Linked DNA regions of Homo sapiens: regions 2 and 3 are each linked to region 1. The links are contacts of gene promoters, found by promoter capture Hi-C in blood cells and fetal thymus (Javierre and others, 2016). All regions are on one chromosome and are shown on one strand. Each heading gives the region's core, a stretch centred on a gene start or on the middle of the fragment in contact. The rest is flanking DNA. Distances are from core to core; before and after follow the strand shown. Region 1 holds the start of ZNF225 (zinc finger protein 225). Region 2 overlaps ZNF283 (zinc finger protein 283). Region 3 overlaps ZNF283 (zinc finger protein 283).

Region 1 (3,605 bases), core at 807-3,306:
ACATATTGCATGATCCTATATCTATGAAATTCCAGAGTAGGCAAGTGTATATAACGAGAAAGTAGATAGGTGGTCTCTGCATATTTGAGGTGACAAAGAGGATTAACTATAAGTGAGCACAAGGAGGCTTAATGGGGGATGAAAATTATTTAAACTGAATTATGGTGATGTTTATTCCACTCCACAAAGTTCCTAAAAATCATTAAAGTGTACACACGAAATGGGTAGTTTCTATGATATGTAGAATACACCTCAATAAAGTTGGACAAAGCATTGGTAATTGTTCATCCACATGTCATTTAACTTAATAAGACTGGATTCTGGATCTACACTGATAGAATATTTATAGTTGAATGAATGAATAAGCAAATGAAGGAGAAGGGAGAGTTCACCTTTACAGTAGAATGTGCACTAATAAATGTATTTCTCCTTACAAAATTTTATTTAACTAAAAAATTAGGGAGTGTATATTGAGAGCAACTTGAATCTGTGTTCCTGGGGTAAAAAAAAAAATTCAAAATAATTTTACAATGCGGAAATCTGACAAACATGACTTTAGCCAAGTGAACAAAGTTGAGATCACCAATGAAGTGACAAACTGACATATGGCCCCTGTTATGTTGCAATAAGAAATTTACCACTTCAGGCTGGGCACGGTGGCTCATGCCTGTAATCCCACACTTTGGGAGGCCAAGGCGGTTGAATCACCTGAGGTCAGGAGTCTGAGACCAGCCTGGCCAACATGGTGAAATCCCTTCTCTACTAAAAATACAAAAATTAGCCGGATGTGGTGGCAGGCACCTGTAATCCCAGCTACTTGGGAGGCTGAGGCAGGAGAATAGCTTGAACCCAGGAGGTGGATGTTGCAATGAGCTGAGATCGTGCCATGCACTACAGCCTGGGCGACAAGAGCGAAACTCCGTCTCAAGAAAAAAAAAGAGAGAGAGAGATTTACCACTTCTGTGGTATTCCAGCAAAAAATGCATATTTTGAAGTTAAACGTGAAATACATCAGAAAAACTCCAAATGAACATCTTTGACCAAAATAACTTCATCTATACTCTTCAAAAATAACAAGGATAAAATACCAAGAAAAAACGATGAAAGCTATGCTATCTTTCAAGATTAAAGACTAGAAAAACATGACAACTGAAAGCAACACCCATGCCCGAAGACACATCCTATACACTCTCGGTTGGGGTGAGCATCTCTGTCAAAGAAAAAAGCCAAGGATCACTCACGTAGAGCTTTGCCCTCAGAAGCCAAGAAGTCCCTCCCTGCAGCTCTTTTGGAAAGGTCGGGCTGGGTAAGGAGAAGGCTGTGAAACACTCTGACCGTGGTCGCCGTGCCCCATAAAAGTTAAATGCTCCTCTCCCCTCCTGGAAGTGGATGCAACCCTCGCCTTCCTAAAAGAGAGGTCAGAAGGCGTCCGGGATCACCCAGCGTCTTGCAGGAATCAGGGAGAAGGGCCGGTGCCCCTGCAGCTGGAGTTTCACCCCACCCGGGGACCTGACAGGCTTCGTGGGAAATTAACAAGAGACCACCAGTCACCAAGTGACAGGGGCTGCTTTAAGGCTCTCATTTGTGTTACCGCTTTCAGTTCCCAAAACGATTCTATTAGGATGGTCCTAAACTCCCCATCTTAAAGAACTGTAACGGGAGACCCAAGGAGATTAAGTAACATCCCAGCGTTTTATCGCGAGGAAGTGGCCACGCGCGTGGGGTGCAGGGAGGCCGAGTGGGCGAGCTCAGAGCCCCGGAGACCCTAAAACCAGGCGAGACGCGACCCGACCAAGTCCCAAACACCCCGGGGACGCGAGGAGAGCCCCAAGCCCAAGAAGGCTCCACTGACGAGAACGAAAACAGCGGCCCCGCTCCGCCAAACCTCTGCTCTCCGACGAGGTTTCTTTTCCCCTAATTCGATCACCAGTTCGTTAAGGATCCAATGCGTAGGTCCAGGAAATTCAGAAGGGTCTCGCGGAACTGACCCAAACTACCAGGGACAAAACTGCAGCAACCTCACAGTAACGGAGCGGAAGTGGCCCGCTACTCCACTGAGTGTCTGGACTCCACTTCCCAGAATTCCTGAGACAAACTGACCGCGACGACCCCGAGCGTCTGGACTACACTTCCCAGAATTCCCTGGGATCCACCTGCCGGAGTCAAATTGACCGAGACTCCACTGAGCGTCTGGACTACATTTCCCAGAAATCCCCTGATTCGCCTGCCGGAGCCAAGCTGACCGCTACTCCACTGAGCGTCTGGACTACCATTCCCAGAATTGCTTGTATCCTCCTTCTGGAGCCAGTGTGTACGACTCCACAGAGCATTTGGATTACACTCCTCCGAATGCTGAAGGAAAAACGCTCAAAATCTCATTCTTCAGGGGGAAGCGTTGCCACTCCGAGGTGCCCACTGGGAACGAATCCCAAAGCCACGAGCGCCTGCCTAGTGGGGAATGTGAACTGTTATCCTGAGAGTCGTCCTTCTCTCTCCCTGGTCCAGGACAGAAAATACTGAATAGACAGGAATTTCTGAAGTCTAAACGCCTCCAATGATAACAGGAGTGTTATTGGAAAGGGAACAAGCGAGAAGACACAGTCTTCGAGGAGTTAAGTTTTGCTAATCTAATGGTAAGAAATGGTTTCTAAATGTAGTTTTAATTTGTATTTGTTCTTTTGTAAATAAAGTGGAACATCCGTGCATATTTTCCGTTGCCACTATTATAGTCTTTGTGAATTGGTCAAATAGTTTGCCCACATTTCTATTGAGTGTTTAGTTTTTTCCCCTCCGTTAAGTATTATTTACATACTCATATTAACATTGTATCAAATATTGCTCAACCAAAAAGCTTTTTTCCTTTGACTTGTTTTTCGCTATGCAAAACGTTTTTAACGTGGTCGTTTTATTATTTAAAAAATATTTTTGAGGTGTAATTCACAAAACAAAATTATTTTAAGGCACATAATTCAATGGCAATGGCATCTAGTACGAATACAGTGTTGTTAATATATACGAGTTAAGAAGCCATCACTTAGGCAGATAGGGTATGGGAGCCCTCGGTAAGGCTTTTCTTTTTAATGAAAAGCAGCCCCAAATTATTTCCCTTCCTAAGGAAGAGCAGCCTGTAAAATCCAGCTGCCGCAGACATAGATACCAGCAGTTGTGCCAATCATGTTAAAGATGGCGGCTCCATCTTCCCTTCTCTTTGTCAGCCACGTGCACAGTAAGAAGCTGGCAAGATGGGCCAATCAACTGGGAAGCCTATTTGCATAAGAAGATTAGGGTGGGGCGACCAGCCTTCCCCACGCACTATGTAAACGTCATAACTGATCGAACCAATCTATGACCCCTATGTAAATCAGACACTGCCTCCTCAAACTGGTCTGTAAAACTCAGCACATTCACTGCCAGCCGACCCTTTTCCGCTCGGAGACCCCTTCCTCTATGGAGGAACCCGTTTCTCTTTCTCTTCTTCCTATTAAACCTCCGCTCCTAAACTGAGGAGTTTTTGTGTGTCCGTGTCCTAAATTTTTCTGGCGCTTAACGACGAACCCCGGGTTTAAACCTCAGACAAAGTAGCTGCTTCATTGTGAAACCACCAC
Region 2 (3,605 bases), core at 682-3,181, 280 kb after region 1:
GGGAGGGAAAACGAAGCGTTAAACCAGGTGTGCCTCAGTGATCCCATCCTGACTTACACTAATAGAAGATCTTATCTTCTCCATGCCTGCTTCTGCTACACACCCCACGCACCATTTATGGAATTCAAACTTTCACCTAAACCCCAAAGGTCTTCAGCAGGGAGGTTTCTGGCAGTGTCTGGTTCTGAGGATGTGAATCTGGACCTGGGATTCGACAATTCAGTCCTGCCCAGGAAATCAGATCATCCTCCTTCCATTCCTACCTCTCAGGAATACCTGTCATGGTCCAAGCTAGAACGTCCTTCATGGGCTCAGGACTGAAGGAAGTTGGTCAAAACATGGGAGCTGGACAGGCTGTATAAGGAATTCATCAGGAACCCAAAAAGCTGACTTTCTAATGCATATATCAGAATATTCATGACGCAGAACATCATGCAATGAGTACATGCTAACTTAGGGAAATAATCAAGATATACTCAATAGAAAAAGGAGGTTATGAGACTTATGATTACATTTATAAAATACATATATATCAATACAGAAAGACTGACAATCACATCAATAGATGAAAAAATGTTTAGAAAGTTATACATCTCAAGAAAGAAACAGGCCAGGTGAGGTGGCTCAGGCCTATGATCCCAGCACTTTGGGAGGCTGAGGTGGGTGGATTATGAGGTCAGGAGATCGAGACCATCCTGGCTAACACGGTGAAACCCCGTCTCTACAAAAATACAAAAAATTAGCCAGGCGTGGTGGCAGGCGCCTGTAGTCCCAGCTACTCAGGAGGCTGAGGCAGGAGAATGGCGTGAACCCGGGAGGCAGAGCTGGCAGTGAGCCGAGATCGCGCTGCTGCACTCCAGCCTGGGTGACAGAGCAAGACTCCATCTCGAAAAAAATAAATAAATAAAATAAAAAATAAAAAATAAAATTATATATCTATATATATTAATAACATTTATCTTTTCATTATGATCATAATGTTTTCTGTTTAGGTAATCCACACAATCATTGTAACCATGGCCATACATTACATGAACTGTATAATTTCTACATATGCCTATGTCTTGCCTAGAAAAAAAAAGGATGAAATTCCCCAAGTTATGCCATGTATATATTAATGGAATAATACTAATGGAATAATATTAATGAAATGATATTAATATATTCATGGCCTAAGTTGAGGAATTTCATCCTTTTTTTTCATTTTTTGAGGGGAGGTTTTATTTATTTTTTTGTTCCCCTTCCATTAATGAGGTTTTGATTCTACTTTTCTTATCTTGACTGATGGATTTATTTTGTATCTGAACCTGTCTTAGACATGGTACTCTCCAGATAACTGAATCCAGATAACTGAATCACCTGATCCTATTAGGCTCACTTTGCAACCAACATTAGTAGAATAAAAACTATAAAGTATAAACCTTACAGAATAAATTCCATTTGCCTCCAAATGCTTGATCATGGTTCAACGGTATTGCTTATAACTGCCTTCCTATGAGTTCCTAAAGCAGGTCCCCTGGATTGCCTACTGGCCTTTGTTGCTGACTGCTGGCTGCCTTATGCTTACCCCAAGGCATATTTGGTCTCCAAGGTAACAACTATGTCTTCCAAACACTGTATTACCCGCTAAGTACAAGTATCACAGGGTCAGGCATTTGGGGCAAATTCTTTACCCAAAACTTCACTTCTAGAAATGTATCCTTAAGAAATAGGTAAAGAAGGGCCAGGCACGGCGGCTCATGCCTGTAATCCCAGCACTTTGAGAAGCCGAGGTGGGTGGATCACGAGGTCAGGAGATCGAGACCATCCTAACATGGTGAAACCCCGTCTCTACTAAAACTACAAAAAAAATTAGCTGGGTGTGGTGGCGGGCACCTGTAGTCCCAGCTACTCAGGAGGCTGAGGCAGGAGAATAGCGTGAACCCAGGAGGCGGAGCTTGCAGTGAGCCAAGATCGCACCACTGCACTCCAGCCTGGGCGACAGAGCGAGACTCCATCTGAAAAAAAAAAAAAAAAAGAAATAGGTAAAGAAGAAAGAAACACACAAGATGAATACACAAGGGTACTCAACCAAAAATAATTTCTGGTAACCAAAAATGAGAAACTACGTAATAGTAAGCAAAAGGTTTAATAAATTATGGCCCACCATATCCTCATTAGTTATGATGGTGTTGGTTCATATTAATTGATGAAGAAAGACATGCATGATCAATTCCTTAGGCAGGCCGGTTTGTAACTAACATAATGTGGGAGGCATATTCTATTGAAATTAAGATAAAAGTTCTGGTGTGAGAGCTTTAGGATGTGAATTTGAGCTTGATAGTTATCCATTTCTCAATACCTCTGTTTCCTCATCAGTAAGACGGGTGAGAACAGTGTCTACCATAGAAGAGTAAGTAAGAAATCCATACAAAATACTGAATGGTATATGATAATTGTTTATAAGTTGTCTTTTTTTTTTTTTTTTTTTTTCAGAGACAGGGTCTTGCTCTGTTGCCTAGGCTGGAGTGTAGTGACACAAACACAGCTCACTGCAGCCTCAACCTCCTGGGCTCAAGTGATCCTCCTACCTCAGCCTCCATCCCCAGTAGCTAGAACCACAGGTGCACGCCACCTTGCCCGACTAATGATTCTTCTTTAAAATTGTTTGTAAAGAAAGGGTCTCACTGTGTTGTCCAGGCTGGTCTCGAACTCCTGAGCTCAAGGAATCCTCCTGCCTTGACCTCCCAAAGTGCTGGGATTACAGGTGCAAGCCACCAGGCTTGGCCACATTTTCATCATTATTATTGAAAATGAAGAATGTTACTGTCCCTTATCCTGTTATGCCAAAGAAACTTAAGGCTACTCTATTTTGCTCACAGTAAAATGTGTCTTTCTCAGACCTGCTTTCTTATAACGTGAACTCAAATTTCACAGGTCAACCTTGAGTCTGCTATTCTTCCTAAATAACAATGTGAGCAAAACAGGTTCTCAGAAACATATAGAGGAAAATACCCCTTCCTCCCAGAAGTTACATAGAGATTCAGCATCATTAAGCTGCATCAGAAAATACAACCTGATTAGGTATAAAGCTGAGAACTTAACCAAAGGCTCAGTCTTCTGTACAAATTGGTGGTTTACTTAAACATTTACAACAAGAACCTTCTTATTCTACCTCCTGGTATTTACACCTGTCCTTGGAAATATTATCTGTAAAATGTATTTTTTGTAAGATGGCTGTATATTGGAGATTATTGCCATTGTCTGTAGAGGTAACCTTTAAAATAATCTAATTCTAAAACTCTTTTTTGCCTGGTAATTCATTTTTAAATGACATTTCTATAATCCCAGAAGTTGTAAATATTTGAAGGTTTTCAAATAAGGGAATCACTAGTACTTCCCTCTTCTCCCTAAATATTCAAGATTAACATAAAACCTAGAACTGGGTTGGATTTTTTTTTCAAACTAAGAACTAAAGAGTCTTCAATTCATTTACATCACCAATTACTATAATTTTATTCTGCAGAAAAAAAGAAAAAAAAAACAGACCCATAGGCTCAAAGGAAAAAGGATTTAAATAAAAATATTCCAAAGTGCTGGGTGTGGTGGCTCACGCCTGTAATTCC
Region 3 (3,605 bases), core at 812-3,311, 260 kb after region 1:
TGCTGGTGAGAGTATAAGACGGTTCATTTGTTTGGAAAACTGTTCAGAAGAATTTAAACTTACTAAAAAGTTGAACAGATGTGTATCCATGACCACACCCCAGCAATTCCACTCCCAGTATATACAGAAAGAAATGTGTACACGTGTGCTCCAAAAGACATGTACAAGTATGATCATAACAGCCCTATAAGGAAGTTCTGACTTCCCAACACATTATTCTTAAGAGCACATAATGAAGGATTTTAGGGGCCATGCTGGGATGCGTCTTTTATGCGGATCTTGGCTAGTACTACATGGCTATGAAGGCTCCTTAAAGGAACTGTGCTAACACTCAATAAATCTGTTATGTCTGAAGTAGGAATTAAAAGACAAAAAAAAATGCAACAGATGGAACTAGAAAAGTGGTCAAGGATCAAACAAAATAACCTAATAGGATCATACAATATTAAAAAACAGGCTATTGCAATACCAAAACAAACAAAAATACAATAAAAAAGAAAACTATTATATAATCTCACTCATGAGATGCAAAAATACTAAATAAAATGGCAAAATGAAATCAAGCAATGCATCAGAAGGATACTATGACTAACCTGGAATATCCAGGAATGGGAAAAAGTCAGTGAATCTATCAGAATAAATTATCACATGAACAAATTAAATACTATAGAAGTGCAGAAAAAGATAGTGAAACGGCATTTAATAAAACTCAGGAGGCACCACTACTTAGCTACAACAAAGATTTTCACTCATAACTGAGACCATGATGCTGCCATTCCATCATAGCTAACAACCAGACATGGTGACTGAAATTCTCTTTTGGTTATAGCAGCAGTTCCCAATGCAATTTCACCCACCTACAAAGATAATAGGTCATGGGAATAAGTATTTCAACAGTGAAGTTTGCCATACACCAGTTTAAACAAAGTTCAACCATTTTCTTCACTAGAATACTCCTTAGTCTTTTTTTATTTTTATTTTTTTGAGACGGAGTCTCGCTCTGTCGCCCAGGCTGGAGTGCAGTGGCGCAATCTCGGCTCACTGCAAGCTCTGCCTCCCGGGTTCACGCCATTCTCCTGCCTCAGCCTCCCCGAGTAGCTGGGACCACAGGCGCCCGCCACCACGCCCGGCTAATTTTTTCTATTTTTAGTAGAGACGGGGTTTCACCGTGTTAGCCAGGATGGTCTTGATCTCCTGACCTCGTGATCCGCCCGCCTCGGCTTCCCAAAGTTCTGGGATTACAGGCATGAGCCACCGCGCCCGGCCGTCTTTTTTTTTTTTTCACTTCTCTTTAGTCTTTTGATAAGCTGGTGAGGTGCTTTTGCTTGTTCCTTAGGAGGGGATTTAGTAGATGCTACTTTATAAGCTTCTTTAACTGTAAAATCCTCCTTCATTGTCAAGTACTAGTAAGCACTGGTGATTCCTTGAGATATAATTTCAGAAATGTTGGGATAAGGCACCATGTCTACATTTCTTGGTTAACAGGCAAATGTGGCACCCAGAGGGAGTGGCATAATAGCCAGTTACCAATAATATATCCTGTTAAAACTCCCAAAGTACTCTGCTTTGTGTTACAGTTGATTATTAAGAGTGCAACTGTTGGCTTTTTATGCCTTTGAAAAAGTGCAATCATGTAGAATGATGATCACTAGATGGTGAATGACTGACTGAACAGTGATATTACGAATCCCCTATGTGCACAAAATAGAGAGGTCAGGTGTAGACCTATGACAAGGAACCACAGACATTTAGTTATCAATGCATTAGTTCTGATGGAACTGACATTATTTTCAAAAAGAAATAATTTTTAAAAGGGTCGATTTCTAACTGTGTGAGTATATAAACACACACTCTATTTCTTCATAACTAACCTGCCTTGATGCTAGCACTAAATCATGACAGGCACCTGGTTGAAAGTGGTTGCAAGAAGCCATCAATTTTAAGATGCATTGTGATTTCCAAATAGTAAAATATAGCCAGGCGCAGTGTCTCACACCTGTAATCCCAACACTTTGGGAGGCTGAGGCAGGTGCAGGAGTTCAAGATCAGCCTGGACCAACATGGCAAAACCCCATCTCTACTAAAAATACAAGAATTAGCCAGTATGGTGGTGCACACCTGTGTATCCAGCTACTTGGGAGGCTGAGGCACGAGAATCACTTGAACCCGAGAGGTGCAGGTTGCAGTGAGCCGAAATCACACCACTGCACTCCAGCCTTGGTGACAGAAAGAGAGATCCTGTCCCAAAAAAAAAAAAAAGTAAAATACATACCATATGATCACACATTTCCAAAGATCATTGATCAAGGCTGACCAATCCTATTAGGTATATAATGGATCTTTATAACAGACAACTCCAGTAGTTACCATAAGTGATCAAACTTGGCACTGGTGATACTGGGGGAAATGGATACTATCTGCTTCTGAGGTATTGCAAGATGAAGTACACATCACCATCTATGAAGTGTTCTGGTAAAAAATGTTTAAGCCTCTATTTCCAACTTCATGTTACGAGAAATGTGAAGGAGAGGCCCATATCAAATTTCACCATGAGGAATGAAACTAATGTGTGACATTCTATAAAACAGCTTTCCTAAACTCTTCAAAAGTCTGGATTTTTTCAAGTCTCATTTTTTTAGCTCAGCTTAAGGGATAAACTCTGAATTAAAATCCCCTCAAATTCTTTATACTGTACTAGATCTTATCCAGAATGAACTATCTGAAATTCAAATGGATGAGTGGTTATGGGAAGCTTTTCTGAATTCATTCCTCAAAACGGTTGTGCCTCTCCTAAGAATTCACCAGTAGTAATACTAATAATAAAGACAATATGAACAATAGCTAATATGTATTAAGCATAGGCTACATACCAGATACTCTTCCAAGGATATGATGCATACTAAATCCATCTAATCTCTGTAACAGCATTATTAGTTACCATCAGCATTTGAAACATCATGTCCAGAAGAGATAAGCATTTTGCTCACCATCCTACAGGTAGTATGGAGGTGAAATGGTGATGACAGTATGGTATTTGCCATGGATAAGGGTTTTCCTACATTTGTTACATTAACAGAGTTACTCTCTAGGATGAACTTACTGAAGTTTAACAAAGACTGAATAGTGTTGGAAGGCTTCTGCACATTTAACATATCTGGTATAAATTATCTTATGCTGTTACAGGCATTAGAAAATTTTGATTCCCTCATTTGCCAAATCTTGCTATAGTATGAATATTCTGCTATTCTAATCAGAGAGGTGCAAGTGAAGAATTTCTTATTTAAATTGTCACTTGTCTCATGTCTTGAAAAGTGTGAGTCTTGTCTCAAATTATTTCTGGGAAAGAACAAACTTTGTTTTCAATTCTCAATCATTTATGGACTGATAATTTTGTAAAACAGAATGTTATGGAAATGTCAAATTGCTATAAAAGTTCCAAATATTTACTCACTTTCCACGTTTATCTCACAATTGACAGATGACAATTTTATGACTGCACCAGTCTCTGGATAATAATTTGGGTAGCATTTGTCTAAAGGCCTTCCTATAATTCTAATTCAAATGATTTCTCATTTGGATGAATTCTCTGATGTACTCTAAGATAT

Evidence for each region. Contacts are between HindIII fragments. The CHiCAGO score rates a contact against its expected background, and 5 or more counts as called.
Region 2: a fragment that was not itself captured here is called in contact with the fragment with the promoter of ZNF225 in region 1 in 14 of 17 cell types (monocytes, activated CD4 T cells, non-activated CD4 T cells and 11 more); the score reaches 10.2 in monocytes.
Region 3: a fragment that was not itself captured here is called in contact with the fragment with the promoter of ZNF225 in region 1 in 16 of 17 cell types (M2 macrophages, naive CD8 T cells, non-activated CD4 T cells and 13 more); the score reaches 10.8 in M2 macrophages.

Annotation. Positions count from the first base shown.
Region 1 is chr19:44,111,850-44,115,454 of GRCh38, reverse strand. ZNF225 (zinc finger protein 225) reads right to left here and starts at 2,056. Exons shown (of 5, transcript NM_013362.4): 1 at 1,886-2,056. It overlaps ZNF225-AS1 (ZNF225 and ZNF224 antisense RNA 1), which reads left to right and starts at 2,272. Exons shown (of 2, transcript NR_033341.1): 1 at 2,272-2,633. RefSeq lists an enhancer at 1,603-2,302 and a silencer at 1,995-2,345. The HindIII fragment of the contact is 4,811 bases long and covers 1-2,853 here.
Region 2 is chr19:43,831,897-43,835,501 of GRCh38, reverse strand. ZNF283 (zinc finger protein 283) reads right to left here. Exons shown (of 7, transcript NM_181845.2): 4 at 1,876-1,997. The coding sequence starts at 1,997. Among named protein-coding and RNA genes, the nearest start is that of ZNF283, 6.4 kb to the right of the region's middle. The HindIII fragment of the contact is 7,984 bases long and covers 1-3,605 here.
Region 3 is chr19:43,849,096-43,852,700 of GRCh38, reverse strand. ZNF283 (zinc finger protein 283) reads right to left here. Exons shown (of 7, transcript NM_181845.2): 7 at 684-3,605. Among named protein-coding and RNA genes, the nearest start is that of ZNF283, 24 kb to the right of the region's middle. The HindIII fragment of the contact is 1,386 bases long and covers 1,369-2,754 here.